3 separate regions of the Homo sapiens genome follow, and regions 1 and 3 are each linked to region 2. The links are contacts of gene promoters, found by promoter capture Hi-C in blood cells and fetal thymus (Javierre and others, 2016). All regions are on one chromosome and are shown on one strand. Each heading gives the region's core, a stretch centred on a gene start or on the middle of the fragment in contact. The rest is flanking DNA. Distances are from core to core; before and after follow the strand shown.

The links. Contacts are between HindIII fragments. The CHiCAGO score rates a contact against its expected background, and 5 or more counts as called.
Region 1: a fragment that was not itself captured here is called in contact with the fragment with the promoter of FOXP1 in region 2 in 10 of 17 cell types (naive CD8 T cells, activated CD4 T cells, naive CD4 T cells and 7 more); the score reaches 18.5 in naive CD8 T cells.
Region 3: a contact is called between a fragment that was not itself captured here and the fragment with the promoter of FOXP1 in region 2, in 1 of 17 cell types (naive CD4 T cells). The highest score is 5.0, in naive CD4 T cells.

The regions. Positions count from the first base shown.
Region 1 is chr3:70,550,549-70,554,219 of GRCh38, forward strand. No RefSeq gene overlaps it. Among named protein-coding and RNA genes, the nearest start is that of MDFIC2, 240 kb to the left of the region's middle. The HindIII fragment of the contact is 6,674 bases long and covers 1-3,671 here.
Region 2 is chr3:71,582,202-71,585,864 of GRCh38, forward strand. It overlaps FOXP1 (forkhead box P1), which reads right to left and starts at 1,527. Exons shown (of 21, transcript NM_001349338.3): 1 at 1,370-1,527. It overlaps FOXP1-DT (FOXP1 divergent transcript), which reads left to right and starts at 2,742. Exons shown (of 1, transcript NR_182289.1): 1 at 2,742-3,663. RefSeq lists a silencer at 1,400-1,639 and an enhancer at 1,717-2,011. The HindIII fragment of the contact is 2,384 bases long and covers 401-2,784 here.
Region 3 is chr3:70,516,463-70,520,449 of GRCh38, forward strand. No RefSeq gene overlaps it. Among named protein-coding and RNA genes, the nearest start is that of MDFIC2, 210 kb to the left of the region's middle. The HindIII fragment of the contact is 1,270 bases long and covers 1,708-2,977 here.

The DNA.
Region 1 (3,671 bases), core at 1,123-3,622, 1.0 Mb before region 2:
AGTTATTACTTCCTAGATACAATGAGGATACAGGCATTGGGTAAATATAGCCATTCCAAATTGGAGAAATTGGCCAAAACGAAGGGGTTATAGGCCCCACGCAAGTCTGAAATCCAGCAGGGCAGTCAAATCTTAAAGCTCCAAAATGATCTCCTTTGACTTCATGTCTTGCATCCCGGTCATGCTGATGCAAGAAGTGGGTTCCCATGGTCTTGTGCAGCTCTGCCCCTGTGGCTTTGCAGGCTAGAGCCTCCCTCCCAGCTGCCTTCATGAGCTGGCGTTGAGTGTCAGCAGCTTTTCCAGGTGCATGGTGCAAGCTCTTGGTGGATCTACTATTCTGGTATCTGGAGGACGGTGGCCCTCTTCCCACAGCTCCACTAGGTGGCGCCCCAGTAGGATCTTTGTGCAGGGCTCCAACCTCACGTTTCCCTTCTGCGCTGCCCTAGAACAGGTTCTCCATGAGGACCCCAGCCCTACAGAAAATTTCTGCCTGGGCACCCAGATGTTTCCATACATCTTATGAAATCTAGGTGGAGATTCTCAAACTTCAATTCTTGACTTCTGTGCACTCTCAGGCTCAACACCATGTAAAAGCTGCCAAGACTTGAGGCTTGCACCCTGTGAAGCCATGTCCCGAGCTCTATGTTGGTCCCTTTCAACCACAGCTGGAGTGGCTGGGATGCAGGGCACCAAGTCCCTAGGCTGTACACATCCCGGGGAACCTGGGCCCGACCCATGAAACCACTTTATCCTCCTAGGCCTCCAGACCTGTGATGGGGGCTGCTGCAAAGGTCTCTGACATGCCCTGGAGACATCTTCCCCATTGTCTTGGTGATTAACATTCCTCAACTTGTTACTTATGCAAATTTCTGCAGCCAGCTTGAATTTTTCCTCAGAAAATGGGATTTTCTTTTCTTTTGCATTGACAGGCTGCAAATTTTCCAAACTTTTATGCTCTGCTTCCCTTTTAAAACTGAATAGCTTTTAAAACACCCAAGTCACCTATTGAATGCTTTGCTGCTTAGAAATTTCTTCTACCAGACGCCCTAAATTATCTCTTGCAAGTTCAAAGTTCCACAAATCTCTACGGCAGGGGCAAAATGCCACCAGTCTCTTTGCTAAAACATAACAAGAGTTATCTTTGCTTCAGTTCCCAACAAGTTCCTCATCTCCATCTGAGACCTCCTCAGCCTGGACCTTATTGTTCATATCACTATCAGCATTTTTGTCAAAGCCATTCAACAAGTCTCTAGGAAGTTCCAAACTTTCCCACTTTTTCCTGTCTCCTTCTGAGCCCCTCAAACTGTTCCAACCTCTGCCTGTTACACAGTTACAAAGTCACTTCCACATTTTTGGGTGTCTTTTTAGCAACGCTCTACTCTACCAGTACCAATTTACTGCATTAGTCCATTTTCACACTGCTAATAAAGACATACCCAAGACTGGGCAATTTACAAAAGAAAGAAATTTATCAGACTATGGTTCCATGTGGCTGGGGAGGCCTCACAATCATGGCGGAAGGTGAAAGGCATGTCTCACATGGTGGCAGGCAAGAGAAGAGCACCGTTTGTGCAGGGAAAATCCCCTTTTTAAAACCATCAGATCTTGTGAGACTTATTCACTACCACAAGAACAGCACAGGAAAGACCCGTCCCCATGATTCAGGTATCTCCCATTGGGTCCCTCCCACAATACATGGGAATTATGGGAGCCACAAGATGAGATTTGGGTGGGGACACAGAGCCAAACCATATCAAACAGACATTTCAAAACCAATCATGCCTTCCCAACAGTCCCCCAAAGTCTTAACTCATTTCAGCATTAACTCAAAAATTCACAGTCCAATGTCTCATTTGAGACAAGATGAATCTGTTCCACCTATGAGCCTGTAAAATCAAAAGCAAGTTATTTACTTCCTAGATAAAATAGGGGTACAGCCATTGGGTAAATGCAGCCATTCCAAATGGGAGATATTGGCCAAAACAAAGGGGCTACAGGCCCCATGTAAGTCTGAAATCCAGCAGGACAGTCAAATCTTAAAGCTCCAAAATGATCTCCTTCGACTCCATGTCTCACATCCCAGTCATGCTGATGCAAGAGGTGGGTTTCCATGGTGAACCCACCATGGTGAAAGGCATGATTGGTAAAATGCAGAAATCTTAAATTTATAACTAGATGAATTTTCATAAAATGAACACACATTTATAACCATTATAAATAGTGCTGCTATAAAGTTTCTTGCACATTTATTTTGGTGAGCATATGTTGAGCATTTTTATTGGGTTTATACCTAAAGAATTTGCTTTGTCATAGGGTACATGTTTTTCAGCTTTAGTGAATGCTGCCAAACAGTTTTCCAAAGTGGTTTTACCAATTTGCAGTCCTCTCAGTATGTGAGAATTCCAACAAATCCATATTCTCTTATACTATTTAACTTCAAGTATTACAATTTCTGAAAGATCTATTTGATTATTTTATTTGAAAATTCTGTTTTATTCCTTTCAAATCTGCCTATTCCTTAGACATATTTTCAAACCATCTCTTATTTTTATAATCATGTTAAACATTCTTATCCATACTCTTTAAAGTTCTGGTCTTCATCCATTTGACTCAGCAATTTGTTTCCTTATTTATTTCATGATTTCTTTTAAAATCATGAGCTTATTTTTAATAACACTTAAGTGTGGGAATTCTTTGAAGTCTGAGTTACAGGTACATTCCCCCAGGTAGGATTTGCATTTGTATTTATCAGGTGCCTGGAAGCGCCCCCAGCTTGGGAGAATAGGCTAAAATTCATAAGGCCAAGCCTGTGGTTATGAGCCTATAGAGGAATTTTTTCCCCCTTCCATTCAAAACCAATATTGAAAGAAATTTTCTCATATCTTTTTCTATGAGCCAGGCTTTCTCCCTCATTCACCCTTTCACTGAGTTACAGTATTATCCTTTGAGGTCTCGGCCTAATGCTAAGAGCCTAGTGAAGTCGTCTTCTATCAAATTAACCTCTGTGTGCCAGCTCTAATCTCTTGACCCCTCTTCTCTACACATCTGATAAAGTAAAATCTGTTGGTCACATGCAAAGAATGAACAGCCGTCCCCAAGCCTCCCTTACTTTGCCTTACCTCTCTGGGTTTGTGCTTTCACTCCAGTTTCTTTCTCTAAAAGTAGCGCTTAATTTCTTATCAGCTTAGCCGTGAATTCAAAACAGATCTTTAAAATTTTCATCCAGCATTATGTATTATTTTTCAGGGGGAAAATTGTTTAGAAGACACCTCTTAAAATGTGGTCTAGCAGCTTTGAGTGTCTCTGAGGCCTTTTCTAGGGTTTGCTAGGTCAAAGTTATATTCACAATAATAAAAAGATTTGATTTGCATTTTTCACTCTTACTGCCTCCTGAGAGTACAGTGGAGTACAATGGTAATATGACGTGTGTTGATGTCATCATTCTGACAGCTAATGGAATGTATGCTTTGCGTTCTTGTGATTTAAAAAAAAAACCTCTCAGCTTTAATTTCTAGCATGGTACGTATTGATTAGTATAATTCATATAACAGAAATTCTTTGGGGTTCTTAATAATTTTTAGGAACATAAAGGGATTCTGAGTTCAGGAAGCTAGAGAAGTGCTGATTTGGGGTATCCTTTGTGCTAAATTGTGAAAAATGAAATTCCTCAA
Region 2 (3,663 bases), core at 277-2,776:
GCTCACAACAGGTGGGGAGGGGGGCTCGTCGAGGGCCAAAAAGAAGAAGGAATCTAAGTTTCCGAGCGCGACGTTGTCTGAAAAGGAGGGAGGCGGGAGGCGGGGGCGAGGGAAGGCGGAGGCAGCAAATGACCGCGACCCCGCGGCAACTGGCAAACTCCTCGGCTCCCGGCGCCGCCGCCACCGCCGTGGTCCCCACTCGAAGCGCACGCCGCCTCGGCTCGCTGGCTCCAGGGAGTCGTCTCGGCGGGACAGGAATAGAGCGCAGGGAGCTCGGGAGGAAGGCTGCGCGCAAGCGAGGGACGGAGAGCCATCGGCCGCCAGGACAGGGCCGGAGGGACGAGGCGACACGCGCGCGACGCAGGACAAATCGGAGCTTGGGAAATCTCCCCGTCCCCCAAGCTTCAGAGGGGGGTAAAATCAGAAAATGTGTGTGATGGTGGGAGAGAGATCCGGGCGCGGCGACTCCTCGCAGCGCATCCGGCTCCCGCACCCACCCGTGGATCTGGCCACGGCTGTTGCGGACTCGTCTCGGGAAAGCGGAGGCCGAGCGCGCGTAGGGGTGCGTGTCTGGCTGGGGGTGCGCAGGTGCGTGTTTGAATTTTCCGGGCTCCGAGGGGGTGGCGGGAGAGCTTCCTCGCCGCTGACTCTCGGGGTAACGCGCGCGTGGCAGCGGGGAAGTTCCCCAGTGCGGGGCCCAGGGCCAGGCACCACAGTCAGTTTGCTGGGGCCCGCGGGGCAGCTCAAGGGCACCGAGGGGGCACACACCCGCGGGGAAAGAAGGGGAAAAGTTTGCTCCAAGTCTAAACTTTGGGCCTAGGAGGCGCCCGGCGCGCGCCCCCTCCCGCCGCGGCCAGGACCCGGGACCCCGCACCGGCCCCGCGCCCGGGCGGCCACCGGACGCCAACGCCGGACATCGAAAGTTGCGCCAGGCGGCCTGGGCTTATTGATTTCTCTCCCCTAGGCGATCGTGGAGAGCGCAGAGAGAGGCGTGAAGGGGCCTACGGGCAGGCGATCTCGCCTCCTCACAGTCGCCACCGCCCCCGCCCCCATTTGACTTATGCAAATAAACCCAAAGGGTGCGGGCGCCGCCGGAGCTCCCTCCACCCGCGCGCCGGCCCGCAGCCCCCACCCATCCCAGAGCTGGGCCTCGACCCGGGGGGGAGAGGAAGAGAGGGGAGGGCTGGGGGAGATGCACGTGGAGCCTGGAGGTGGAAAGTAGTTGTTTTTTTTTTTCCATTTTTTTTCTCTTTTTCTTTCTTTCTTTTTTTTTTTTTGTGCTGGTTGTTGTTGTTGTTTAAAGTGGCGGAAACAAGACAGGAGGCGGCTTGGGAAAAAGTGGAGCAGAAATGGAAAAATACAAACTCACCCGCTGCAAATGGTCTCTCGGTGCAAACTAAGGTGTTTTCGGGCCTTTCCCCGCGCGCGCCCACTCCCGCCCGCGCGCGCACCCCGCGCACACACTCACTCGCGCACACACGCGCGCACACACGCACTCCCGGGCGAGGGCCGGGCCGCCGCGAGTACAGCGTGCAACCGCCACACAATAAATAACAATAGATTCCTCCGCTCCGGACTAGCTTCCCGGAGCCCAGCCAGCGCCGGTGGCGGCGGCGGCGGCGGCAGAGGCGCGGGCAGCACCGGCCCGGGGGCGCACCCCGGCCCGACCCTCTACCTCCCGCAGGGGTCCCCTCTCCGCTTCACGCACCCCGCTGGGCACTCCAGCGGCCCCCCGAGCGGGAGCGGCTCCCTCTTTGCCGTTCGCCGGGGCGCTGGCGCCCACCCCCCTCCTCCCTCCCCCCTCCCCCCCGACATCCCGGAACAAATAAATAAATAAGGCGCGCGAGAGAGGCCAACACGTCGCGGAGGGAGATGTTGTTATTTTTTGCTGTTGTGCGTCCCTGACGTCACATCCACCTGCTGGGTAAACAACCGGGCTCCCAGAAAAAAAAAATCGCAATTGCCAAAGAATGGGGGGGGGGGTTGGGGGGAGGGATCCAGGGAGGGGGAAGTGAGGGGCGTCCAGGCAGGATTGGAAAGAGGAGAGGGAGGCAGAGCCCCGCGGACCAGAGAGAGGAAGGGAACGCCAGAGCAGTCCCTGGCAACAGAGGGATCTGGCAGGAAAGACCTGGAAAATAAGGGGCAGGGGGGCGGAGGGGGAGATTCCTCAGGAGATGGGAAATGGGGGGCCCATTCAGACAGCGGAAAAAACGAGAAGGGAGAGTGTTAACTAGGGACGAAGATGGGAATGCGATGGCTATTTGCTTGGATTCTGAGCTAAAAATATGAAAGGGAGGGGAGAGGACAGGCTAGAATGTGAGTTTCCTCCAGTTAAAAGTGAAAGTGTTTTGCCATCAGTGACAGTTGAAGGAGAGCGGGGTGGGAGGTGGTGTTTTCAACCCCCTTTCTCCCTCTCTCCCGTCCTCCCTCGGTCTCTCCTCTTTCTTTCTGCACTTTGTCCAATGAAAGAAGGCGAGTTCGGGAGGTGAAAGTTCAGCAGAAGGACAAACCCCTGTTTGCAAGGAAACAGAAACCCCGCCAGCCAGCGAGGGGTTTTCTCCCCTGTTTCTCGGAATCAGGAGAGTGTGAATGTGGGACGAGCTTCTGCCCCCTTGTCAGAGCCACTGCAGGAATGTGCAATCGAGTCCACTTTGGGGGAAGGTGGCTGCATCAGGAACTGTGTTCTTGCCACGACTCCTCTTAGGAAAACGCCTGGGGGCTAGCATGTCAGTCCGTTGTTTAACACAAATTACCTGCTCTCCCAGTGATCAGTCACGTGCAAAAAGCTTTGTCCAATTCTTTGAAAAGGTGAGATTTTTTTTTTTCTTTTTGCGGTTTTTGAAGTTTGGTTGAATTTAGAAATTCGAAGGAATAAACTAAGAGCCTGAATTAAATGTTTTGAAATATACATACATAAAACAAAAGACACTAGTATTTCTTTCACTTTTATCAATACGCATAGAGAAGGAAGCAGAGTATGTGTTTCCAAAACGTGACTTGGAAAGCTGTAAGACCTCTATGTCTTGTTGTTGTTGTTGTTGTTGTTGTTAACAGAAGTAAATTTTTTCAGACCCACCACCACAGAAGTGGCCAGACTCCCAAACCAGCATTTCCAGCTACTGGCTGGCTGGTGTACACCAGGCCAATTCTTTATGAGAATATATTAAAAGTCACCCCTGTGGATTCCTACAAAGTACTTCCCCTTGCGGGGAGGGGAGAGGCTTACTGTCCCTTTGGTCTTGAGACCAGCACAGTTGTAGATAATATCCTGAAAAGGTTATTATTAAATTCTTTCGCGTAATGCCCCTTTACAAATATTGTTAAACATTAATTTACAGAAGAACTTAAATCTTAATTTCAAGGGTGGCATAAGACTATCGCTTTGAAATTGTATCTTTCGCAAGTTAAAAAAAAAAAATAACAAAGCCATTCGCTGATGCTACAGAATAAAAGAAAGGGAGGCTGCTAAGGTAATTTCAGCCTGGTAGAATTCACATTGCATGCATGCTGCATAAAGTTCCATGCTATCCAGATAAGACTATTCACTGAATCTTTTAGACTAGAATCTAGACCAATAAAATGCATTTTAGTTTGTATGGAATGTCCTAGCTTCCTAGAGGCTAGGGTTCGACGTCTTGTTTGTCAAGACATAAAGGGATTAAT
Region 3 (3,987 bases), core at 1,093-3,592, 1.1 Mb before region 2:
CCTTGAGAATACTTTTAAAGTTCTCGGTAAAATATTTTCAACTGTGGCCACTTTCTTTGTCTCAACGAGGATTCAACCTCTTGTCGTGGGCGCACTTCCCATTGTAATGTTCTTTGGAGATCTCTCAGTTGGTGAGATTGTGTTCTGTCTGACACAAGGTACACCCAATGTTCTGATCCATTCATGACTGCAAAACCTTTCAATCTGTGTGGAAACTGCTTGTCATTTTCTTCTCTTTTCTTTTCCTGATAGGATAAGACTTTAAAATCAAACTGTAGGATTGAATGACCATTTAGGTTTCCTTGTTATCATGTGTTCTTGATGTTTTTCATGTAAAAAGACATGGTAATTGATCTAAATGTTAATTATGCTCTGGACAATTAAGCATTCAGAGATCTACAAAATAAATTTATTCTCTATAGCATGCTTCCTAGATTAAATCTAAGACACTTACCATGAGGTGGAGGTCCAGAATGCTTCAGGGCCAGCACTCCAGAGATGGAATTATCTCCAACAGCCACACCAAGAGCACTGAAGCCCCTTTGTGACCTGTTGACAGACACCATGTTTTGCATAATATATATATTTTCATTTTCCCTTAGCTTTCTTATTATTTATTCAATAAATCCTTTTTTCTTGCTGACAGCAGTTGTATTTATAAAGCTAAACCCAACACAGCAAAATGTTCATCACTTTATAAACTAAATGCTAATGTTTTATTTATGTGCAATGAAGAAAGAAAAAAAGAACTGAATTGATGTTTACCTTACAAGCAGCACAAAAGTGCAGTACCATAATAGTGGAGTTCATAAGCATTCTGGCTTGTAATTTTGGGTGTCAACATTTGAATTGCAGAAAGAGTTTATGCAGACATAGCACGTACACAAGTGCAGTTTAGATCCACATCTATAAAAATAACATCTGTTTAAGCATACATTACATTTAAAAATAACTGTACAGTGATCAGCTGGTTAAGTACAGTTAACCAGATGTCGTTTTAAAGGGCCAGATGGAACTATGAAACTAAGATTGAAAAATTAAAAAATACTGTGAAAGGTCAAACCAATTAAGCAACCTGTTTTGTTGGCATGTAACAGTTAAAAAGTAAGTTAAACTACTTAAGGAGTGAGCAATATGAAGATGTAGCAGTTAAAACCAGGTCTTGCTCCTCTGAGGACAAAGAGAAAAATCCAGGCTAGAGTTGCTCACTTACTGGAACTCAGGCCAACATCAGAAATGTGAATTTTCCTGTGGTTATCAGAGGCTGGGGAGTGGGAGGTTTGGGGAGCTGTTGGCCCAAAAATAGAAAATTTCAGTTAGACAGGAGGAATAAGTCCAAGAGATCTATCGCACAACATGATGATTATAGTTAATAAAAATGTATTGTATACTTGAAAATTACTAAGAGAGTGGATTTTAAATGTTTTCTCCACAAAAAAAAAAAGATAAGTATGTAAGGTAATACATATGCTTGATTTAGCCATTCCACAATGCAGTATTTCAAAACATCATGTTGTATACCATAAATACAAACAATTTTTATTTGCCAGTTAAAAAATTATTTTTTAAAAAAATTGAAAAATAAATGTGAATTTCTGTTGAGATGATTCGGAATTGTCTTCACTATATTTTCAATATATGTTTTCAAACAAAAATTAAAACTTCTGTTACAAAGTCACAGGACCCAATAAAATTCTCCAAAGTATAAGCTTTTCCCAAGTTAAGCATTTTAACATAACGGTGGATAAGACTAAACATATGAATATATGACTTAAGTAATAAATCTGATCCTTAAGAGTGAGAAATCTGATGATTTTCTAAGAAGCTCAAATTGATTATTTTTCTTTCCTCATGTTGGATATCACATGCAATGAAAAAACGAGGCAAATATTTATGGAATATCTATACTGAGGCAGGTTCTGTTACAAACATGTTCACATACATCAGAGGTCACAACGGGTGCCTCCCTCCGCTTATTTGGCCTGCAGATGTGTTTTGTTTGGCTTGCACAGTGCTTTAAATTTGAATTAATTGCCAAAAACTAAAAATTGTGAGGTTTCACATAAAAGTCCGGATTTCCAGCTTCCCGGAAAACCTGGCAACACCAGGTCCACATTTTTTCCATTGCAAAAACTCACTGGAGCCAAATAGGAACAGCTGCCTCTTTAGAGGGACAGAAAGTCTCAAGTTTGTCACAGACACCACCAGTCCCTTCAAATCAGAGACTGCATGCCAGTTGCCATTTACTGCCTTCTACCTAGCCCACTTTACTCAGAGTAACTTCGAGTTTCCAACTCTAATAGTCGTCAACTCCCTTAATCCCCACAGTCAACCTTATAAAGGGAGTACCGTTTGTTATTAATATTTTACAAAAAACTAGAGACAAGAGAATCCTACTAACTCCTCTGAGTCACACAGTTGGTAACTACCAGAGGCAGAATTCAAATTTGAGTCTGGTGTTTCTAATATTCCTAATATGTAAGTCTTTATACAGCCAAAGTATCAGAATTCTTATCTTTGATCATGTGTGGGGCAGCAGGCACTATTCATCAGAAATGAAATAAATAGATCTACTAGAAAATAATTGTTGACCATACACAGCAGACAATTTAGTGCTGACCTTTGTCCAAAGATGATTGAATGATTGAGAGTCAAGATGTGAAAGAACACAAGAATGCCAAAGAGATTCCATCCCCCCAGTTCGTGTCCTTCTGTTGCCTTTGCCTGTCCCACGTGCCAGAGCTGAGCGGGACTTTGAGGCTGTGTTTTAGCTAAGTGAGGAAAAGCTGAAGATTGGAAGGGAGAAAATAGTGGCTTGTGTCATAATGGACTTTTTTTTTGGATCAGGACTCATTTTTTTTCTTTTGGCAATACACGCTTCCTCCTGGAAGTTCTCACTATACTTTCTTTTCCAGCATTGACTTTTCCTACATTTTTCTACAGTAAATTAATAACAAAGAATGATATCTGCTAAGCAAGCTTTATTTTCCATCTAAATATGCATTTTCAAATTTCAAGCCTCTTTCTTTGTCTGTTGCCCTTGCTGCTTACTTAAATTTTAAGTGAAAACAGCCAATTTTTTAAAAATAAATTTATTAAGGAAAGCAGAGAGATAGATTAATGTACAGTTATGTCACTAAACCAGGATAAAGTTATATACATATATATCTTTGTATAGGGATCCAGATGCATGGCTGAAAAATAAGGCAATATTTACAGCAGGTTAGAGTCATGTGATCTTATTTCAATATAGCCATCGTTTTCCTGGAGGTGAAGCGGTTTTACGTGGGGAAAGAGAATATAGTTTTAAAGGGGGGGGGGAGAGACAGAGAGAAACAGAGAAGGAGAGAGAGAAAGAATAGAGAATAAATTCTAAGGGAAAGACAAATTTTGAGGACTGAAAAATGAAAGATTCCACCTAAACTTTTCTCATCCAGAATGTAACCCATTAAAGAAAGATGTCAAATAATGCTTAACAGCCTTTTTTAAAAGCCTCTAGAAAGCCTATGTTAATCGGACACACCTGTGGTATTGATAGTTTGGTAAGAATCAGTGTCACTGGGTGCAGTTGAAATGCAACGAGAATATCCCAGAAGACACTACATACTAGCATTTTAAATATCATGAGTAAGCAATAGTTGGTGGTAAATATCTTGGAGTTAGTGCTGGGAAGAACTGACTCAGTAACTATCTATGCAGGAGTAGCAATTCCTTGTCAAGAAAGAAAGAAAAGAAAAAGAAAAGGGGGGATTTACAAAAGAATGGGTTTGAGAGTAGAGAAGGAATTAGAAGAGGACAGTTAGGAAAGAGGAATCAGAAAACCTATAAAGAAAATTCTCCTATACCAAGGACCTTCTATTCTGAATCCACTCCCTCCTCTTCAGTTAAATGAACTGTTAAAAGACCCAAACCAAAACTGCAGTTACTCAGCCAACAATAACTTGGGAAGTTAGAGCAGATGGCTCCACCTCTCCATCTGATTACAGC